4 separate regions of the Homo sapiens genome follow, and all the other regions are linked to region 2. The links are contacts of gene promoters, found by promoter capture Hi-C in human tissues and cell types (Jung and others, 2019). All regions are on one chromosome and are shown on one strand. Each heading gives the region's core, a stretch centred on a gene start or on the middle of the fragment in contact. The rest is flanking DNA. Distances are from core to core; before and after follow the strand shown. Region 1 has its middle 31 kb from the start of LINC00310. Region 2 holds the start of KCNE2 (potassium voltage-gated channel subfamily E regulatory subunit 2). Region 3 overlaps KCNE1 (potassium voltage-gated channel subfamily E regulatory subunit 1). Region 4 overlaps MRPS6 (mitochondrial ribosomal protein S6).

Evidence for each region. Contacts are between HindIII fragments. The study calls those that stand out against the background at their distance.
Region 1: a contact is called between a fragment that was not itself captured here and the fragment with the promoter of KCNE2 in region 2, in 2 of the 25 tissues and cell types used here (dorsolateral prefrontal cortex and heart left ventricle).
Region 3: a fragment that was not itself captured here is called in contact with the fragment with the promoter of KCNE2 in region 2 in 4 of the 25 tissues and cell types used here (H1 embryonic stem cells, lymphoblastoid cells, mesenchymal stem cells and 1 more).
Region 4: a contact is called between a fragment that was not itself captured here and the fragment with the promoter of KCNE2 in region 2, in 1 of the 25 tissues and cell types used here (dorsolateral prefrontal cortex).

The regions. Positions count from the first base shown.
Region 1 is chr21:34,147,853-34,150,552 of GRCh38, reverse strand. No RefSeq gene overlaps it. Among named protein-coding and RNA genes, the nearest start is that of LINC00310, 31 kb to the left of the region's middle. The HindIII fragment of the contact is 3,436 bases long and covers 1-2,700 here.
Region 2 is chr21:34,362,592-34,365,291 of GRCh38, reverse strand. It overlaps KCNE2 (potassium voltage-gated channel subfamily E regulatory subunit 2), which reads right to left and starts at 1,286. Exons shown (of 2, transcript NM_172201.2): 1 at 1,141-1,286. All of the region lies in intron 2 of LOC105372791 (a long non-coding RNA gene), which reads left to right. The HindIII fragment of the contact is 19,800 bases long and covers 1-2,700 here.
Region 3 is chr21:34,503,998-34,506,697 of GRCh38, reverse strand. The region is part of intron 2 of KCNE1 (potassium voltage-gated channel subfamily E regulatory subunit 1); the gene reads left to right. Among named protein-coding and RNA genes, the nearest start is that of KCNE1, 6.9 kb to the left of the region's middle. The HindIII fragment of the contact is 7,108 bases long and covers 1-2,700 here.
Region 4 is chr21:34,119,036-34,121,735 of GRCh38, reverse strand. The region is part of intron 1 of MRPS6 (mitochondrial ribosomal protein S6); the gene reads right to left. Among named protein-coding and RNA genes, the nearest start is that of SLC5A3, 47 kb to the right of the region's middle. The HindIII fragment of the contact is 5,228 bases long and covers 1-2,700 here.

The sequences.
Region 1 (2,700 bases), core at 63-2,562, 210 kb after region 2:
TAGCATTTTACTTAGCCACATTTATAAATAACTTCTTCATATTATTTTTAGATCTGGTAAGATATATGGAAGAGGAACAAGCTTTTAAAACATTTAACTGCTAACTTTATAAAATCAGCGCCTTTAAAATCCCCTGTGATTTTGCTTTGTGAATGACCCTTTGCTGGTGTTTTAAAAGTAATTAAAATGTATTTGGAGAGTATTTGAAAACTCCTGAGCTGTCATGGTGCCTGCAGAGGAGAGTTGCTATACTTACTAATTATCCCTTTCCTTGGCCTCACTAAACCCCATCCAATCTGCCTGTTCCTGAGGCTGGAAGGTAACAGGAGTACTGCATCCAGGCTCTCCTAGTACAGTCTGGCTCTTTCTGGCCACATCACCAAATTCTCTGCCAAGGTACTTTTCTAAGGGCTCCTTTCAAAGAGAAGGCCCCTTGCTCATGCAGATGTCATAGTTGCCTAGTGGACGGGAGATGGTGGAGGATGAAAGTTTGTGTGCATGAGAAGAGGAGGCAGGATGGTGGGAGACAGACAAGACAAGCAGAGTAAGAAAAATGGTGGGAATCAAACTCCCCTTTTTTGCAGGTAAAAGTTGGAGATTTACAGAAAGATGTCAAAAAGACCCTCAGCAGAAAACTAAGCAAAATTCCTGCATCAAATAGAGCCTATTCTTGTTATCTGCAGTAGTTGTGTTCTTTAAAGTTGCCATCAACACTGACTTAGAGAACCCTGAATTATCGCTCCTAGGGGAAATACAGGGTTAGGTTAGCCTTTGGTCACAACGCTTATGTCAACCCATCAATCCGTGAGCTTGTTTTATGTGTGTTTCGTTTTAAAGACGTTTACTACATACTGTTGATTAACATTGAACTCAAGGCCAATGGCACTAGAACTCATGGCTGAACAAGTTTGTCTAACAGGTATCTTCTCCAAAAGGCACATCACAGCCTTCTTGCGCTTAGAACACAGTCCTGCAGCACTACACTTGGGGGCCATTTGAAACAGCAAAAGCACCATGAAAAAGCACACAAATGCAAAAAAAAAAAATGGCACTAAATAGTGAAAAAGACACTTGTTTACAGTATGAGAGCTGGAACAAGAAGGCAGAGTGTTGCTTTGTTCGACAGGGAACAGACTTGTCAAGTGACTCAAATTCTTTGCTACTCTACACATACCCGTTGAATGACTACAAAAGTATCATGGGTATTCATTTTGAGGACATAAATTTTAGCAAGTAAGCAGACTCGCAAATATGGAATCTGCCAATAATGAGCATCCACGATACCAATTAACAGAGCCTGACACCTCTGTCAAAGTGTAATATCCAGTCTTTCACAAATAGGTGCTTAACATTTTGGTATCCGATTAGACAAAGGATGCTACATCCAAGTCACATCATTTAGCTCAATACAAGCTTTATGGAAACTACAGAGTCTCCCACTTATTTGGAATAGAGAGGTCAAGAGTCCATTTTGCATAATCCTTACTTCAGGCATTGTCTGGTGAACAATGCACCCTTGTCTCTTCCACTCACAATGGAACTGTCTCAAGGCAAATTGCTTTCTCTGAGAAATGTGACGATGCTGGTGTTCTGGAAGCAAAGGTTCAGATGCCACACCCAGACACCAGTGCTGCTCCCCTTCAGCAGCCCAGCGGACCTGAATACTTTGGGGATGAAGTTTGGTTCCATGAGTCTTTTGTTAATCTCACTGGGTTGTGGTGGCACTAGGAATGTGCAGGATTATCCAGGTCTTACTGTTGTCACTTTAGAGGTCAATTTTGGGGGTTGTGGTGTAGCTCTCAAAAAACTACCACCAATATGGACTTTTCGTTTCGACATGGTTTTCCTCCTGCGACTAACAGAATGTGTCTTGCCTGTATTTGGCTGTAAGCCATGTCCCTTAAAGCTTCATTTTCAGAGAACAAAAAGAATGCTGGCAATCTGAGCCCAGCAAATGACTGTGCTGACCTCTGGGACTCCTTTGCTGTTTTCTTGTGATTAAAGACAGGCCTATTCTGTTTAGAATGAGATTACTAGTCAGCCCCACAGAATCCAATGGCAGGTTATGAAAACAACAGCTATGCTTATCAGAACATGAAAAGAAGTGTGCAAAGAATAAGCCTCTAAGAAATTATTTTAACCCTTCCCCACCTCCATATCCTACCAACTACCAAGTTCTTTAATCACTGATGGAATAACTCTTCAGCAAACCAGGCAGTAACTCGGTCCAGGGTATTAGAGACCAGGACAGGCTCTTTGAGACCATCTGCTTCACTGGCCACATTTTCCATGTGAGGACACTTAGACCGGGAGAAGAAACTGAACATGGTCAAGGCTGGTGGGTGGAGAGTTCTCTGAGCAGTTCTCCAACCCAAAGTCCTATGATCATTCCACTACTGCATTTTTTCAAGGTGACCAAGAATCCCACAAATCGCCTTGGAAACTTCCCACCATCAACACCATACTTGTCTGTTTCCAGGTGCAGAAAACAGGCCAGGGACTGGCAGGTAGCATCACAAGGCCATTACAGGTGCCGTCATCTCTCTGCGGAGACCTCCTAACGCAAATGGCAGTAGCCCAGACCACAGCAGAGAGAGAATAATTTGTACTTTTCACACGCTCCTACGCACATTTCAAAGCACACACTGTTCAGGAAGGGGTTGCCTGGCGAGCACTCGCCCTCTCTAGTCCACACTGCCC
Region 2 (2,700 bases), core at 37-2,536:
AAATATGGGCAATTCATGTGTATCAACCTAGGAGGACCTACATTTCCAGTGAATGCTTCTTGCTGAGTCCTAGCACAGGCTGGGCCCCTGGAGATCATTTAGGCTGGTTTGCTCTCTGATAGGTGGAATAACTATAGCCTAGAGGGCTTAAGTCACCTGTCCAAGATCACAAGCCTCTCAAGTTGGCCACAGTGCCTGGACTAGAACTCACATCACCCAAGCCAGTGTCCAGCACTGACTGTCCTAGCAGAGGTCACACATTCCAATAACTCACTGTTTTCATTGCTGTGACCAGTTGGCTCAACTGGGTACAAGACATAAGATCAAGACCATGATTTGAGCTTACACATGTCATTAGTTGTGCCCTGTCTCCAGGCTACAGAATGATCCCCTAATTCCAGCCATTCCTGTCATGAATGTGTGTTATTCATGACAACAGCAATCAGGACACTATTAGGAAAGTAACACTCATTTGACCCCAAAGTCCAGAGTTTTCTTTTCTTTCTTTTTTTTTTTTTTGAGATGGAGTCTCACTCTGTCGCCCAGGCTGGAGTGCAGTGGCGTGATCTCGGCTCACTGCAAGCTCCACCTCCCGGGTTCATGCCGTTCTCCTGCCTCAGCTTCCTGAGTAGCTGGGACTACAGGCGCCAGCCACCACGCCAGGCTAATTTTTTTTGTATTTTTAGTAGAGATGGGGTTTCACTATGTTGGCCAGGCTGGTCTCGATCTCCTGACCTCAGGTGATCCGCCTGCCTCAGCCTCTCAAAGTGCTGGGATTACAGGCGTGAGCCACCGCGCCCAGCCCCAAAGTTTTCTTTTCTTGAAACATGGTAGATCGCTCACATCACCTGGGCCTATAAAAGGCAGCAAAGTCTTTCATTTTTATATCAAGAAGAGAAAACAATATGATTACCTACGTTTACCATGAATCCTCCATTTTAAAAACTCTCAAAATTTTCATTCTAAGGCAATTAACAAAGAAATGAGTAAGGAAAACACAAGAAGGAAAGAAGGAAGAGTGGATGAGGAGCCAGGCCATGTACCAGGAAAATCATTCCTTTTATCATTTTCTGGAAAAGGCACATAGATAACTTTGTTACTTAATTCCTCAAAAAATAAAGAATGTGTGCTAAGACTTACCTATGCAGTGTGTGGGCAGGATGAAATTCCTTTCCAAAGCCAGGCTGTTCTGAACCTTCTTGCTGGCGTTAGCGAGCTCTCTTCTGGGTTGCACACAAGCCTCAGCCTGCTGGGCACCTTCACCTTACAACCATCTAAGCCCTTGCAACTGCAGTCTGCAATCCTATGCTTTTATGAACCCACATGTTTAATCTAATCGTATGTGGAAAGTTAAATACTAACTGGCAGTTGGAATTCACCTTGGTGCCTGATGGGGTGTGTGCCTCAGGGACTCTGGCTTTGGGCAGAGTGGCACAAGTTCCTGCTCTGGGACCCTTCCTGCCAGCTCCAGCCAGGGCAGGGCCTGGGTACAGTGAACATCTTTCCCCAGAAGAAGTCTTCCTCTTAGGGTAGGCTTGGGGGACAACAGCATTCCCTGCCAGAATACGTGGGAAGGGCTGGGTGGGGTGGCTCACGCCTGTAATCCCAGCACTTTGGGAGGCTGAGGCGGGCAGATCACCTGAGATCAGGAGTTCAAGACCAGCCTTGCCAACATGGTGAAACCCCGTCTCTACTTAAAAATGTAAAAATTAGCCAGGTGTGGTGGCACACACCTGTAGTCCCTGCTACTCTGGAGGCTGAGGCAGGAGAATCACTTGAATCCACAAGGCAGAAGTTACAGTGAGCTGAAATCATACCACGGCACTCCAGGCTGGGTGACAGAGTGAGACTCTGTCTCAATGAAAGAAGAAAGAAGAAGAGGAAGAGGAAGAGGAAGAAGGAAGAAGAAGGAAGAAGAAGGAAGAAGAAGGAAGAAGAAGGAAGAAGAAAGAAGAAGAAAGAAGAAGAAGACGATGTGGGAAGGACAGGGCCCCAGGGAGAGGAGCCAAGAACAGCCATCTCTGGGTGGTTGGTATGGGTTGAGGGGGTCAGTATAATTCCAGGCAAGTGCCGTGTTCTGAAGACGCTAAATAAGCTAGATTCTGGTAAATACTCCTCCACGGGACCACATCCAAATGAGTTTATAACAACATTGTTGTCTTGTAAAAGAGAAACGGGCTGCAAGGGTACTAAGGTACTACATGGAGGAGCTGGAAGTTAAGTCCAACAAAGAGGTTTTGAGGTTTTTGTTTGTTGTTGTTGTTTTGAAACAGAGTCTTACTCTGTCACCCAGGCTGGAGTGCAGTGGCGCAATCATAGCTCACTACAGCTTTGAACTCTTGGGCTTGAGGGATCCTCCTGCCTCAGCCTCCCAAGTAATGGGACTACAAGTGTGTACAAAGCCTGGTTAATTTTTATTTTTATTTTTGTAGAAATAGGGTCTTGCTGTGTTGCCCAGGCTGGTCTCAAACTCTTGGCCGCAAAGGATCCTCCAGCCTCAGTCTCCTAAGGCGGTGGGATTACAGGTGTGAGCCATGGTGCCTGGCCCCCAGCAAAGTATTTAAAGACCTAGCAAGAGCTAAACATACTCTATTTACCAAAAGATCCTTTTCTATCATGGTGGGGACCCTTGGAATTGGGAGAACTGAGTCTTTATATTGGCTATCATTTAGGAGTGCTTACCATGTGCTTTTATCGTAT
Region 3 (2,700 bases), core at 8-2,507, 140 kb before region 2:
TCAGCACCTAGCAGAATGCTTGGAATGAAATAGTCACTCAATAAATATTTATTAGATGTATTGCTTATAACTCAATTCAATTCCTTCTTCTTTAACTCTTTGTAGCTGCAGATCTCCCCTGGCAGTGCTAAGCCTGGCACTGTTGAGCAACACCAGGTCTGTCCCTTAGGTAATGGAACCTAAGGCAAAGTGGGTGACGCACATGAATATTTCACAGGGGCTCTTTTCTTGGTGGAGACAATGTAATGTGTTCACATATGGAAACTTGGGCCTGGCTTTCCCCACGTGCTGCCAGGATTGTCAGGATAGATTGGTTCTCATCCTCCATGCCCCCTGGCTGTGTTCAAATTGTGAGCTGCCTGATCTATGGGGCCAGTGGGGTTAAGCTGAAGCAAGAAACCACGGAGTGACAAGAAGACATTTCAAAGACGTGATTGGTCTAGAAACCCAGCAATTTTCCAAAAGCTTGTCCCCGTGGGATCTGTAGGGCCCAACTTGAAGAGCTGGGACAGAGGGGACATTCCTGAGTTCCCGGCCTGCAATATGGCTATAGCCACATAATTCTGAATGCACAATAGCACTTCATTCCCAAGGAATTCTCTGTAGGGACTCAAGAACAAAATAATCTCCTAATGTAGAGCATTTAACATACAAGCGCTTTTACAAGTCACCTGACAGTAGATGTCGAAGTAATTTCAAAATAATGTTCTATTTTAAAAATACTGTAGTTAAAAAACTTTTTCCCCCAGAGTCTATATTGCCTTGCTGTGTCATATAAGTTGCAATGACTTGGAGGCAGGACCTTTGCTTGTCCTGGGAGGTGGGATGACTCTAGAAGATGGCCCACGCCAGGTCTTCTTTAGGATCTAGTCTGGCCTCGTTTGAGCTACAGTAATGCATAAGGGTGTTTGTACTCACTTTATCTCCTTTTATTTCAAGCGAGGGGATCAAGTGTAGAAATCTGCGTGGGCCACTCAGGACACATCCACATGGCAACAGGAGGTGAGCAGCTTGTAGGGATTGCGGTGAGGATGAGAGGACATTTGTTTGCAGCCTGTGTCAGCTGGGCCTGCTCAGGTCTCTAAGACCTGGGCTTCAAGCCCCAATCCCACAGCTTTGGGGATGCCCTAAGCCTGGCATGATGCCCATTGATCCCTGCCTCACACTCTCCCTCCAGCCTCTGCCTCTCTTTTGGTCCACGCCTCCCAGGTAACAAAGTGTTGCTCCCTCATTGCTTTCCAAAAAAAAAAAGGTGATCAAGGTGGTCAGGCGTGGTGGCTCGCGCCTGTAATCTCAGTTCTTTGGGAGGCCGAGGCAAGTGGATCACCTGAGGTCAGGAGTTCCAGACCAGCCTGGCCAACATGGTGAAACCCCATCTCTACTAAAAATACAAAAGATTAGTCGGGTGTGGTGTCGGGTGCCTGTAATCCCAGCTACTTGGGAGGCTGAGGCAGAAGAATTGCTTGAACCCAGGAGGCGGAGGTTGCAGTGAGCCGAGATCACGCCATTGCACTCCAGCCTGGGTGACAGAGCAAGACTCTGTCTCAAAATAAATAAATAAATAGGAAAGACAGAAGATCTGTGTTCTTAGTTTTTGTTTAGTTCTTAATGCCTTAACTGAGATATAACTTGCATGTATACAATTCGCCCATTTAATGTGTATGATCAATGGTTTTTGGTCTATTCACAGATATGTGCAACCATCACTTCGGTCAGTTTTAGAACATTTTCATCACCTCCAAACAAAACTCCAAACCCTTTAGCTGTCACCTCCCATCTTCCTGCCCCTGCCCCCACCTCGCAAGCTGAGCCCTAAGTTCCCACTAATCTTCTTTCTGTTTCTATAGATTTCCCTATTCTGGACTTTCATATGAATGAATCACATAACAGGAGGTCTTTTGTGACTGGCTTCTTTCACTTAGCCTAACATACTTGAGGTTCATCCATGGTATATCAAGTATAAGTACTTCATCCCTTTTCATGACTAATATTCCATTGTCTGGATAGACCACATTGTGTCAGTTCATTCATCAGTTGATGAACATTTGGGTTTTGGCTACTATGAATAATGCTGCTATGCACATTTGTGTCCAAGTGTCCATGTGGACATGTACTTTCATTTCTCTCAGGGTATATATGTAGGAGTGGAATTGCTGAGTCCTGTGATAGCTCTGTGTTTAACATTTGGGGACCTGTTTTCCAAGGCAGCTGTACCGTTTTACATTGCCACCAGCAGCGTAGGAGTGTTCTGATCTCTCCACATCCTCCCAATACTTGTTCTCAGCCTTTTGTATTCTGGCCACCCTGGAGAGTATGAAGTGGTTTCTTATTGGGGTTTGGATTTGCATTTCCCTGATCACTAGAGATGTCAAGGATCTTTTCCTGTACTTATTGGCTATTAGGTTTGGTTTGAGAGGAAGGGTCTCATCCTGTGCAACATCCTACCTTCTCACTCTCCCAACTCCTCTTCCTCAACCTCTACCCTCTGGAATCCCTCAAACACACACCCGAGTCCAAAGTGTTCTCCCTCCACGACGGAGTGGTTGTCCTTTCCTCCGAAGGCCCTGTGCCCATTGATGTGGGGCCTAGGGACTGGGGATCTTTCCCATGTGAGCTCAGCTGACAGAGGCAGGACTTCACACACCAGCTGTTTAGGTGAACATTTCTCCATCTTCTCACATCTGTGTGACCGGACATGGG
Region 4 (2,700 bases), core at 197-2,696, 240 kb after region 2:
CATATAGTTTACAGGAAACAAATGATCTTGCTGCCATAATTCTCATTTATAAAGTCTCTGAACCACTCAATTCCAACTATTCTAAGAGAAGTTGTGCAGGCTTCTGAGAGGCTTCTCTCACCCCATCTGAAAGCAACTCCTTCAACTCTTTCCTTCTACCTACCAAATGCATCAATGAAACACACTTTGGCAAGGCACAGACTGAGGGCTGAAAACATTCATTTGAAAAAAAAATACAGAAAGAAAGGAATGAATGAATGGGAATGGAAACTAGAAAAACTAGGACTATGATTCTAGTCCTAGCTCATTCACTAATGAGTTATACAAACCTGAATATGTTATTAAAATTTATCAATTTTAAACTTGTACCTCAGTTTCCTCATCTGCTAAATTAGTAGTTCTCGATTTTCCTGTTGCTACAAGCTTCACATGAATAAACAACATTCATACTGCAATTCTCAACATCTGCTGGAGGCACAACAAAGTTTGATGAAAGTCTTTTTATGCCCCCCAATTCTGATATCTTCATCACCAAAATGCACCTCCATCCCCCAGTTCTCCTGATGTCATTCTTTTTTTACTTCTAACAGCACTACAGCAATCTAAAAATATTCTTTCACTAACCAGAATGTAAGCTACAGAGGAGCAAGGACCTTTGTCTATCTTGTACATGACTGTATTCCCAACGTCTAAAATGGGCCACACTCATCGAACAGGTGCTAGAAATAGCTGTGCTAATTGTACCTCCTTTAAGAGGGTCTCTTGCTTACTTACTCCTATCTTTCCTCAAGGAACTCTAAGTTTCCTTCTATCTCTAACATAACTTGAAGCCACTTTTCATATACAACAAAGCTCACTATCAAGGTGGTAACTGTAACACTGAGGCAAAATTACAATACTAATGTTTTCCCATTTACTTCACGCAGTACCAAAATGCTGTTCACACCAATACTGTATTTCAAAAATACCTACAATTCATCTAGAAGTGAAATTAATTAAATATTTTATACATTTCAAATATCAAATTCCAATACACATATAAATATAAATGTTAAAATTACATTATAATTATTTGCTGATTAGGTAAGATAAAGTACTATCCAAAAATTTAACGAAATAGTATAATACTTATAAAAAAGGTAATTAATCCTAGAAGAAATTAAAGCTAATTTTTTATATTAATTACCAAAACTAATGTTTAGCCTACAAAAGACTTAGGGAAAACCCAAGAGCTAACTTCAAATATTTGCAGGGCTATTATGCAAAAGGTAGATTTGTTTTATTTTGATTGGATTCCAAGAGTGGACTAGAATCAAAGGGTAAAAATTAGAGAAATCAAGCTGTATTTTGTAAACAAGAACATATTTCCAAAAATATACAGCTGTATGAAAATGCAGTGGGCTGCCTTGTGAAGTAGTGACCTTCCCATCACTTGAAGTACATAAATAGATACAGGATGGCTGTTGGATTAATATCTGCATGGGTGGGAGGTTGAACTCAACAACTTCTTAAAGCCCCTACCAAGACTAAATACTACTCTGGTACCACTCATCATTCTGAAGGACATTCTGCAGTGAAGCCAGTTTTGAAAACTGCAACTGCATAGCAATGAAGAATACACGTACTGCTAGGAAAAGTTAATGCTGCTGACTAGATTCATGCTAACGTACCAGCTGTTCTACTCACTACTGTTTTCACAATGATCTTCTAAAAGGGTCCCCCGTAAAGCCCAAGAGTCCTCAAACCATATTTTGAAAACCACAGTTCTAGAGATGCTAATGGGAAAAGTTGCTGTAGTAAAAGATGAGAGCAAAAAGGTGGGAAGAATGAAAGGAAGAAAGGAATCTCTCCTTGTCCCCCAAATAAAATCCCCACTCAGGAAGGTTACTGAAGCTAAGAATTCATGGAAGTATCATAACCACCACCACTAGTCAATGACCAACGTTTAACCTAATTAAACATATTTTCATCCCAGAAGAGAAACTTGTCAACAAAATTATCTTAGAAATTAGACTCTATGGGAAAGACAGTTTTAAGCCAGTGGCCTCCAATATACCCAGCTAGCACTACCACACCCTAGTTCCCCAGAAAATAAAGCACACATAGAATCCACAACATTCAACAGCATGCAGCATCTACCTACACCCTGCCCGCCTCACGTTACAAAGAGTTATACAACACTCAAGAGCAGGCAGGACTCAGGGAAGGTAGAGCCAAGACACAGAACTGTCAAAACCTGTGAAAATGTACATGTAAAAGTCTTTCCCATTCTTTGCTGAATCTTAATTCCAAATCTTACTTCCTTTAAAAAATTTCCTTGCAATTTAAATTTTCAAATAGAAAGGCTGTCCCTGTGAATTCTGCATTGACATTCTCACAGCAATCTGAAAATCTGTGAGCCCTAACTTTTCAACAGTCAAATGGGTGTCATGGAAAGTGGCTGAAGTTCTAGCAGACCTTGGGAGAACCATCTACATAAAAATATGTGAAGTGCCAGCCTTGCCTAATGACATAAGCAAAGCCCAACTATGAAATTGATTCCACAGGAACTGTTTGATCAAATATTCTTCATTGTAGAGAACCTCTTTTGCCCAACAATTTATTGAATCAGGAGTTTCAGTCCTCTAGGTAATTAAGGAATAAAAATTATCGAACACAGAAACTACTTTTTAAATTAGAATAAAATTCAATAAGGACAAG